Regions from separate parts of the Homo sapiens genome. Here region 1 is linked to region 2. The links are contacts of gene promoters, found by promoter capture Hi-C in human tissues and cell types (Jung and others, 2019). All regions are on one chromosome and are shown on one strand. The core of a region is centred on a gene start or on the middle of the fragment in contact, and the rest is flanking DNA. Distances in the headings are between cores, read along the strand shown. Region 1 has its middle 100 kb from the start of SV2C. Region 2 holds the start of SV2C (synaptic vesicle glycoprotein 2C).

Evidence for each region. The method cuts DNA at HindIII sites, captures the fragments that hold promoters and counts their contacts. A contact is called where the count stands out against the background at its distance.
Region 1: a contact is called between a fragment that was not itself captured here and the fragment with the promoter of SV2C in region 2, in 3 of the 25 tissues and cell types used here (bladder, mesendoderm cells and stomach).

Annotation. Positions count from the first base shown.
Region 1 is chr5:75,979,165-75,984,255 of GRCh38, forward strand. It overlaps a transcript of SV2C not described here. Among named protein-coding and RNA genes, the nearest start is that of SV2C, 100 kb to the right of the region's middle. The HindIII fragment of the contact is 9,346 bases long and covers 1-5,091 here.
Region 2 is chr5:76,079,914-76,085,710 of GRCh38, forward strand. SV2C (synaptic vesicle glycoprotein 2C) reads left to right here and starts at 3,470. Exons shown (of 13, transcript NM_014979.4): 1 at 3,470-3,599. It overlaps SV2C-AS1 (SV2C antisense RNA 1), which reads right to left and starts at 3,504. Exons shown (of 2, transcript NR_183290.1): 1 at 3,006-3,504; 2 at 1,493-2,483. It also overlaps the pseudogene LOC100132039. RefSeq lists an enhancer at 2,281-2,834. The HindIII fragment of the contact is 16,764 bases long and covers 1-5,797 here.

The DNA of each region.
Region 1 (5,091 bases), core at 879-3,378, 100 kb before region 2:
TTCAACAAGATGATCTAACTGTTCTAAATATATATGCACCCAACACAGGTGCACCCAGATTCATAAAGCAAGTTCTTAGAGACCTTAAAGAGGGTTAGACTTCCATATAGTAATAGTGGGAGACTTTAACACCGCACTGTCAATATTATACAGATCACTGAGACAGAAAATTAACAGAAATATTCATGACCTGAACTCAGCACTGGATCAAATGGACCTGATGCCTACAGAATTCTCCACCCCAAAACAACACAATATACATTCTTCTCATAATCACATGGCACTTAGTCTAAAATTGATCACATAATTGGAAATAAAACACTCCTCAGAAAATGCAAAAGAACTGAAGTCATAGCAAACGGCCTCTGGGATCACAGCACAATGAATTAGAAATAAAGACTAGGAAATTCACTTAAAGCCTTACAATTACATGGGAACTGAATAACCTGATCCTGAATGACTTTTGGGTAAATAATGAAATTAAGGCAGAAATCAAGAAGTTCTTTGAAACTAATGAGAACGAAGATACAACATACCAGAATCTCTGGGACACAGCTAAGGAAGTGATAAGAGGGAAATTTATAGCACTAAATGTCCACATCAAAAAGTTAGAAAGATCTCAAGTTAACAACCTAACATCACAACTAAAAAAATTAGAGAACCAAGGGCAGATAAATCCCAAAGCTAGCAGAAGACAAGAAATAACCAAAATCAGAGCTGAACTGAAGGAGATAGAGACACACAAAAAATTCAAAAGATCAGTGATTCCAGGAGCTGTTTGTTTGAAAAAATTAATAATACATAGACTGCTATCTAGACTAATAAGAAAAGACAGAAGACGCAAATAAACACGATCAATATGATAAGGGAGATATTACCACTGACTCCACAGAAATACACACAATCAGAGAATGTTGTGAACATATCTATGCACATAAACGAGAAAATCTAGAAGAAATGGATAAATTCTCGGACACATACATCCTGCCAAAACTGAACCAGGAATAATTGAATCCCTGAACAGACCTGTAAAGAGCTCTATAATTGAGGCAGTAATTAATAGCCTACCATCCAAAAAAAGCTCAGGATCATACAGATTCACAGTTGAATTCTAGCAGACAGACAATGAAGACTGTACTATTCTTATTGCAACTATTCCAAAAAATTGAAAAGGAGGGACTCCTCCCTAACTGATTCTATGAGGCCAGCATTGTCCTGATACCAAAACCTGGCAGAGATACAACAAAAAAAGAAAACTTCAGGCCAATATCCTTGATGAACATCAAGGCAAAAATCCTCCACAAAATACTGGCAAACCAAATCGAACAGCACATCAAAAAGTTTATCCACCACTGTCAAGTAGGCTTCATCCCCGGGATACAAGTTGGGTTCAACATACACAAATCAATACATGTGATTCAACATAAACAGAACTAAAGGAAAAAAAATATGATTATCTCGATAGATGTAGAAAAGGCTTTTAATACAATTCGATGTCCATTCATGTTAAAAACTTGCAATAAACTAGGTATTGAAGGAACATACCTCAAAATAATAAGAGCCATATATGACAAACCCATAACCAACATCATACTGAATGAGAAAAAGCTGAAAGCCTTTCCTCTTGAAAACCGGCACAAGGAAAGGATGCTCTTTCTTACCACTCCTATTCAACACAGTACTGGAGGTCCTGGCCAGGGCAATCAGGCAAGAGAAAGATATAAAGAGCATCCAAATAGGAAGAGAGGAAGTCAAGCTATACCTGTTTGCAGATGACATGATCCTATAGCTAGAAAGCCCCATACTCTCAGCCCAAAAGCTTCTTAAGCTGATAAACAACTTCAGCAAAGTCTCAGGATACAGAATCAATGTGCAAAAATATCACTAGCATTCCTATACATCAAGAACAGTCAAGCCAAGAGCCAAATCAGGAACAAACTCTCACTGACAATTGCCATAAAATGAATAAAATACCTAGGAATACAGGTAACTAGTGAGGTGAAAGATCTCTACAAAGTAAACTATACAAACCACTGCTCAAACAAATCAGAGACTACACAAACAAATGGAAAAACATTCCATGCTCATGGATAGGAAGAATCAATATTATTAAAATGTCTATACTGCCCAAAGCAATTTATAGTGTCAGTGTTCTTCCCATTAAACTACCATTGCCATTCTTCTCAGAGCTAGAGAAAACTATTTTAAAATTCATATGGAACCAAAAAAGAGCCTGAGTAGCCAAGGCAATCCTAAGCAAAAAGAACAAAGTTGGAGGCATCACACTACCCAACTTCAAACTATACTATACAGCTACAGTAAACAAACAACATGGTTCTGGTACAAAAACAGGTACATAGACCAATGGAACAGAATAAAGAACCCGGAAATAAGACCACACGCCAACAACTATCTGATATGCCACAAACCTGACAAAAACAAGCAATGGGGAAAGGACTCCCTATTTGACAAATGGTGCTGGGATAACTGCACTAGCCATGTGCAGAGGATTGAAACTGGACCTTTCCCTTACACCATTTACAAAAATCAACTCAAGATGGATTAAAGACTTAAATGTAAAACCCAAAACTACAAAAACCCTGGAAGACAACCTAGGCAATACTATTCAGGACATAGGCACAGGCAAAGATTTCATGACGAAGATTCCAAAAGCAATTGCAACCAAAGCAAAAATTGATTAATGGGATCTAATTAAACTAAAGAGCTTCTGGACAGCAAAAGAAACTATCAAGAGAGGAAACAGACAACCTACAGAATGAGAGAAAATTTTTGCAAACTATACATCTGACAAGGGTCTAATATTCAGCATCCGCATATTCTCACTCATAGATGGGAATTGAACAATGAGATCACATGGACACAGGAAGGGGAATATCACACTCTGGGGACTGTTGTGGGGTGGGGGGAGGGGGGAGGGATAGCATCGGGAGATATACCTAATGCTAGATGACGAGTTAGTGGGTGCAGCGCACCAGCATGGCACATGTATGCATATGTAACTAACCTGCACAATGTGCACATGTACCCTAAAACTTAATTAAAAAAATAAAAAGAAAAAAAAAAAGAATTTAACAGTTTTGCAAGAAAAAAACCCAACTCCATTAAAAAGTGGGCAAAGGACGTGAACAGACACTTCTCAAAAGAAGACATACACATGGCCAACAATCATATAAAAAAAGTTCAACATCACTGATCATTAGAGAAATGCAAATCAAAACCACAATGAGATACCATCTCACACCCACCAGAATGGCTATTATTTAAAAGTCAAAACACAACAGATGCTGGTGAGATTGTGGAGAAAAAGGAATGCTTTTATGCTGTTGGTGGGAGTGTAAATTAGTTTAGCCATTGTGGAAGACAATATAGTGATTCCTCAAAGATCTAAAGACAGAAATACCATTCCACCCAGCAATCCCATTACTGGGTATATACCCAAAGGAATATAAATCATTCTGTTATAAAGACACATGCACATGTATGTTTATTGTAGCACTATTCACAATAGCAAAGACATGGAATCAACCTAAATGCCCATCAATGATAGACTGAATAAAGAAAATGTGACACATATATACCCTGGAATACTATGCAGTCATAAAAAACAACAAGATCATGTCCTTTGCAGGGACATGGATGGTGCTAGAGACCACTATCCTTAGCAAACTAATGCAGGAACAGAAAACCAAACACCGCATGTTCTCACTTATAAGTGGGAGCTGAATGATGAGAACACATGGACACTTAGAGGCGAACAACACACACTGGAGCCTTTTGGAGGGGGGAGGGTGAATAGTTGGAGGAAGAAGATTAGGAAAAATAACCAATGGGTACTAGGCTTAATATTTGGGTGATGAAATAATCTGTACAACAAACCCTCATGATACAAGTTTACCTATGTAACAAACCTGTAACAAGCAAGTTTACCTATGTAACAAACACAACATAATAATCTGTAATATAAATCTGTACAACAGACCCTCATAACACAAGTTTACCTATGTAACAAACCTGTACTCATACCCCTGAACTTAAAATAACAGTTAAAAAAAAGAGGATCTGGTGTGACTAATCTGCGTGTCACTCGGGACCATCATTATGTGGCCGAAGAGCAGCTGTCAGAAACTTTGAACAGAACTACTTAACTTTCAGCACCAAATGATTCAATTGAGGGAAAAAATATAAGTTTAGAAAAATGACATCAAAAGCTGCAGAAAGAAGGTCTGCGGCTTGGGAGGAAAACTCTGGAGCTGATAGTGGCATTCTTTTAAGAAATGCTGCAATCACCGATGGTCATGAGTGCAGAAGATGATAATTGTAGTGCAAATATCTTGTCTTGTCATTCACAGGTCTCCTAATAAAGAGGAGCCACATCAAAATCTGATGCAGGTTGCAAAATTATGGGCCAGCTTTAAAAAAAAAAAAAAAAGATGTTTTGGCGAACTTTATAGGTGATGAGTGTATTTTGCATGTAGAAGGCATGTGAACAATGGCGGTTGTAGGACAGACTGTGATAGTTGCATTCATAGTCTCATTTGATAGCTTCCTTGTATCTGCGCCCTGTGCCCAGTAACTGCATAGTGCCTTCCCTGCCTCTGAGATTTGCCTTATGACTTGCTTTGGTCGATAGAATGCTAGCAAATGTGACCCAAGGAAAGGACTGAAAAGCACTTGTCCTTTCTGCTCTCCTTCTTGCAATGGTTTGCATTCTAATCCTTTACTCAAACTGTGAGTATATTGCTGCATGTTTGTAATGGAGGGAAATAAGAGACAGATGGAGGAGACAGCTAAAATGCCGAGTTGTCTCAGCCATCTCGGCCAGCCCAGCTACTCCAGCTGAAGCTGTCTTAAGTCAGTCTATAGCCATGTGAGGGAACCCTGCCAAGATCAGAAGAGTGTCTGATCGAACCCCTCCTAAACTGCCCACCCATATAGAACTAAATAAATGCAAAATGGATGGATTAAAATACTCTAATGGAAACTGCATGAACAATGCAGTAGATATACTGTTCTTGGTTGTGGAGGTAGAATTAGGATCTATAGACATAAGTTACCAAAAAGCAGATTTAC
Region 2 (5,797 bases), core at 2,220-4,719:
TGGCAAATGTATATTTTGATGAGCTTAGGGTGTTTTTTTTTTTGAAAGCCAGCTGAAGGATGGTTCAACAGCACAGCAAAGACTGCCAAATGCACTAACACCCTAGAATGTGATTTTTGTTACTTTTTATTTCTCCGTGGGCTTTGTTTTTTTGTTTTGGTTGTGATAGACTTTCAATTTGGATGTTTGGAGGAATGAACATCATTGTTTTGTTCTGGAGGGAAGTTCTTGGTGGTGTTTCTTTCACCCAATATTGACTTAGATATTAAAATGTGGTGCTTATAAGACAGAGTTTAAAAAAAATGAATAGTAATACTTCGATTAAAATTACAAAAGAGACAAAAAATAGTTTTGAGTGTTGTGGAAGCTGAGTGTTGGGGTAAGAAGAGTAGGTGTCTGCACTTTGCTATAGACTCCTGATGATAGTGAGGAGAAGTGGAGAGCTGTGTGGACTTGGTCCAAGAGTATGGGGCTGTCTTCAGACATCTGCTGTGGAAGCCAGGTGTAACTCTGACTTTCCAGAGCATCTTACAAAACCAGTTCTCCAAAGCGCAGGCTTTGGAAAACCTTGCCCTGACTACTAAAAGAGGAAGAGCAACTGACATTTATTCTATACCCATTGTGTACTAGGCACTGTGCTTCTTGTGTATATTATAAAATATAACCACTATAGCATCTGTACTTAGTGTGAATTATTTTTATGAAAACCACTTTGCTGATGCGAAAACAGACCTCTCATGCTCATTAGGTGTCTTTCACAGCTTGTTTTTTAGCATCACAAGACGACACCCTGCATTGAGGAACAAAAGTCCTGAGGTGTAGGAGAGCAATGACTTTAGAGTACTGGGATTCTGTGGGGATGGAGGGTATACCCCTTTTCACTCCATCCGCTTCTACAAGACAAGTGTTTTCAGAAGAGAGAAAACATTTCATTATAATGAAGGCATGAATAAAACTAGTCTGAGTGCTGGATCCAAGGGGCCTGGGGCCAAGGTGTGTGCCAGGCAGGACCCTAGAACCAGAACTGCTTTAGAGGGCAAGTCCAGGAACCAGGGCACAACATCATCATGACACAATGTTTCATGTCCTCCAAAGACACAACGTTAAAATAGCCTTTTCCAGTGCAACCTGGTCTTAAATGGGATGTTTCAGGCAAAATCACAATCAGGGATTTTCCTAAAGGAGCTGTTACCTTCAAATGCATCAAGACACGAAAATCCAGAAGTAGAAAAATCAACCCACTTTAAAAAAATATCTTCCACGGACAAGATAGGAGAATAATTTAAGGAAGATACAGCATAGCATAAAGAACGTTGATCACGTTTAAAGTTTGTTTCATGGTTTTCTGAACTTCCATCACTTGGAGAAACAATCCATTATTCTGCAACAGTTTAGGGGAGGTTCTCAAAAAGGTAACCGTTTGAGAACTCAGTGAATTGCCAGCACATTTTGCAGTTGGAAGCTCAAATTTTTATAAATAACATGCGGGGAATCCAGATAGGATTTATTTTTTAATTTCACAATTGTATTTCCAATGCTGGATTCATAGGCACTTCCTTGTCATAGTAGCAGCACATTAATTTTAGCCTAAATAATTATTTAAATTATTTAACTATTTAAATTATTTAACTATTTAAATAATTATTTTACTAAGAAGAATCCACGAAATGAAAATGAGCACGTTCACTAATTTTCATATTGCCTGACCATCTCATAGCACCATGGTCACAGACTGCAAAGCCTCTCACCGGAACAAGACAGACCAGCAAGGAAGTGTAGGTTCAACAGCACATGAGAATCATAACTTTTAGTGCCAGAGTGTCTGAACCAGAGAGGAGGGAAAATGAGAGGCCAAGAGTTGTCTCCATTTTCTTCTCTTCACAGTATCCTGCATAGTGGCACAAATCGAACTGGAAAGCCCAAGCTAACAACACCGCCCTGGGCGAACCGCCTGTCTCCACCGGCTCCTCTGGGCAGGAGGCTCCAGCCTGGGGGTGCCTGACAGCTCTCCTTCCCCGGCGCCTGTATTATACATGTAACATTTATATTTCTATCCACACAGCGTTCATTCAGCCATCCATTCAATCACCCAGGCATATTTACACGGATGGAACACATTCGCGGAGAGATGTGTGTGTTTGAGTTCCAATCACTGCAGCCCGTATTGGCGCGGCGCTTTGTCTCGCTTTGGGTCACCACCACAGGAGCAACGATTTCGGGGACGGCACACGCCTGTGTGACCGCTTCCCACTCCACTTGGGTTCCGTGAGCGCGCGGAGCCGGAGGAGTCAGGGACGTGAGGATGCCCTACTTCCCGCAGCATCCGGATGGCAGGGTCTGCGTCGGAAGGCCCGGGAGGGCGACGCCCTCCACTGCTGCCGCGGGGTGGGTGCGCCAGGCCTGGGTGTGGCCTCACGGGAGCGAGTTTCTCTCCAGCCGCCTGGCCCACCGCTTTGGAACAGTGAAGCTCGAGTTGGGGTCTCCTGCACGCCAAGGGGAGAAATGTTTGTTTCTGACAACACAAGCAAAATTCTCTCTCCTGCACGCCAAGGGGAGAAATGTTTGTTTCTAACAACACAAGCAAAATTCTCTCTCTCTCTCCCTCTCTCTCTCTCTTCTCTCCTCTCTCTTTCTCCCTCCTCCTCCTTTCTTTCTTTCTCTTTTTCTTTCTTTCTTTCTTTCTTCCTCCTCCTCCTCTCTCTCTCTCTATCTCTCTCTCCACCCCCCCCCCCTCATATTTGGTTGTTTCCCCTCTAAGGGGCCACTTTCAATATCTGCCTGTGAGCCCAGCTGTCTGGCCCTATGTAGCATTGGGGAGACAGTAGACTTAACCCAGCGAAGTTTTCTTCTGTTTGCTCTTGCTGTGCCCAAGTTTCCTCTGGACTTGTCTTCCAGCGTCGGGGTGGGGGCTGGGGGAAGTAGGCAACCTAGCTCTGCCTGGTTGCTCCCTGGAAGCCAAGTCGAAGTGAACAAGTCAGTCCCAGGCCCGGAAATAGAATACAAACCCTCTTTTTGTCCGGTGCTAACAGAGTCCAGCAGTCAGAACTCCCTCGCGTCTCACGCTGGACCTGACCCGGGGCGCCGCCAAGTGCGCAACGCACAGTCACAGTTGGTGACTAATTAAGGACTGCCGCCCCTCTCCTTCACCTGCTACAAACTCAGAGCCCTGACTTCTCCAGAAGTACCTACCACTTGGAGGTGGCTCTCCTTCCCCGCCCCCTGCCCCAGTCCCACACCGCAGCAGCGCCTCAGCACCGCGACTTGCCGGAGCACCGCGAGTGGCGCGCGGGTCCCGCCTCCCCCGCGCGCCGTGACTCCCTGCGCACCGCTGGTACTCTCGCCACGCCGCCGCCCGGCACTGCAGCACCAGGGGGAGGAGGCAGGCGGAGGAGAGGAGGAGGACCGCAGCGTGCAAGCCGGGAGCCACTTTCCCGCCCCTCCTCTCGCCGCTGACACGCTCAGAGGAGTCACCACTCCGCGCGCTGCAGGCGAGAGTGGCAGACGGAGGCAGCCCGGGGAAGCGAGCCGGAGCGGCGCCCGCACTGAGGCGGCTGCAGTGCTGACACCACTCAGGGCAAGGGTGTCCGACGGCTGGAGCGGTGAGTGGGGGAGGTGAAGCGGGCATCCGCGGGGAGACTTTCCCCCGCTGCTGGATTTCTCTTCCCGACTGGTGGCCGGGCGCTGCAGCCTGGGGAAGTTTTTGCAGCCTTTCGGAAGCGCAACTTTGCCCCGCCTGCCCCCGGGGAAGCGGCTGCAGGTGCCCGCTGCTTTGTAGGCGCCTTTGTTGGAGAGGGACCAGGAAAGTAGGGGTAAAATAGATGCAGTGACCCCAGGGTTCGCTAGGGTAGGTCTGGGGACTGGGTCGCACTTTATCTGGGATTCCCAGAGGAGGTGGGTGGGCAGCAGCGGGGATGCAGGGGCCGCATCTGCAGCGACCGCCACGCTCTTTTTTGCTTGTGTGGTTTGACCGGCAGGGATAGGCAGATTCAAATCTAGCAGCCTAGAGCCCCGGGCTGGGTACCTGGACCTATACCTTCATAGCTGCCTTAGGCTCAACTTTTCGGCGGGGATCCCTCTGCAGACGTGCAGGTGGCGGGAGAGCAGAGGTAGCCGCAGTAAGTGCTGAGAGAGCCTGAAAGAAACACCATGAATTTTCAAACTCTCCCACATACATTCCCGAAGCGCCTGTCTGGCGTCTAAGAGAGAGCAAGAGAGGGCTGGAGAGCAGGGGAGCCCGCGGGGCTGAGGCTCTTTGTCAGCGCCTGCACTTCCTACGTTACAACGCCTTCATTCAGCAAAAACCTTTTGGGCGCCTGCTGTGCGCCAGGCCAGGCGAAGCAGACCCGAGGCTGTGAAGCTCAGAGGGGAGAGGGACCAATCGCAGTAAATAAGCTACCGAGGTAATCTTAGATGGCGATGAGGGCAGCAAAAGCCATCAGCCGACCCTCTGACCCTTTCTCTTAGTGGGCTTTTCCCCTTCCGCCTGGGTTCTAGAACTGGGAAGACTTTTCTCCAGAGCGTCGCGGGGAGCGCCCCGGGCTGGGCCCACGGGGACTGCGGAATACGGGGATGAACTTGGCTTGGGGCAGCCAGCACCCCACGGCAGATGAACAATCGGGAGCAGATCTGTGGGCGTGCGGGGACCTTAGGCGGCGCGCGGGGGCGGGGGGAGGGGCTGAGCCACGGGGGCTAGAGGTGCCGCCTGGACGGCCTGAGCTGGGGGCGCTCGCGTCACCTTCTACGTGTGCGAGTGATGCAAATGCAGACCCGCGAGGGGCGGGCGGGGGTGGCGGGCGGGGGCAGGCGACGGAGTCTCCGTCTGGGAGCGCGCGTGTGTGCGTCAAAAGCTCTGGGTTGATGGATGCCCCGCGGCGCGCCTGGCGCGGAGAGCGGCGACCCGGCGGGGCAGAGGGGGGCGGGAGGACTGCGGCGGCGCGGGGCGGCGAGGAAAGCCCCGCACGGCCTGGGCTGGCGGGCAGGCGGCTCCGCAGTGCGCCGCAGTGCCGGGAAGGAGCCGCAGCTACCGGGCGCTCCCCGGGGGACCGAGGAGATGAGGCGTCTTTTAAGGCTCATGAGAGCCTTAAGGAGATGAGACCGGGATGCCGTGATGGTCTCCTCTCCCGCTGAACCTAATCCCTTCATACTTAGCTGACTGCTAGCGCGGTAGCTTCCGTTTAATTCTTATCCTTAATTCTGAAGAATGTGGCATTAATCTCTCAGGCGTTCACTCATTTTCCATGGCAAGTTCCGAAAGGCCTCGTGCTCGTGGGAAGTTTTCATGTGAACGCCTAGGTGTTGAGGTTCGTGAGGTTCTGTAGTGCCAACCCGTTGCGCCACCATTCTGCAGGATTTTTGGCAGGAGGCCTGGCCTCTAAGTGAGGTTTAAGAATGTCTTACAAAACAATATGCCGCATTCCTCTTTCATGGCATAAAAATACGCGTTAAAAAACACTACTGATAACGCATTCTCTGGTGGAAAATAATAAATCAAATCCACGATCCATTTTATTCTTTTTTTTAAAGACCACTTTCTGGAAACCCAGTGACAAAGTTTTTCTACTGGCTTTACTGAAGGAGCCCAAATCTGCAGTATGTAGGCAAAATGAATGAAAGGGGACGGGGTTGGGAAAAAAGAAAGAAAGGAAGGGAGGGAGGAAGAAAAGCAATTATCAAGGAACCCAGAGACACAGATGCTAGTCACCATTTCCCCAAATATTGTGTTATGTCACCTTGGGCAGGTTACTCACCCTCTTGGGTTCATCTTCCACCTCTGAGAATTGTGAAAAATAGCTTATAC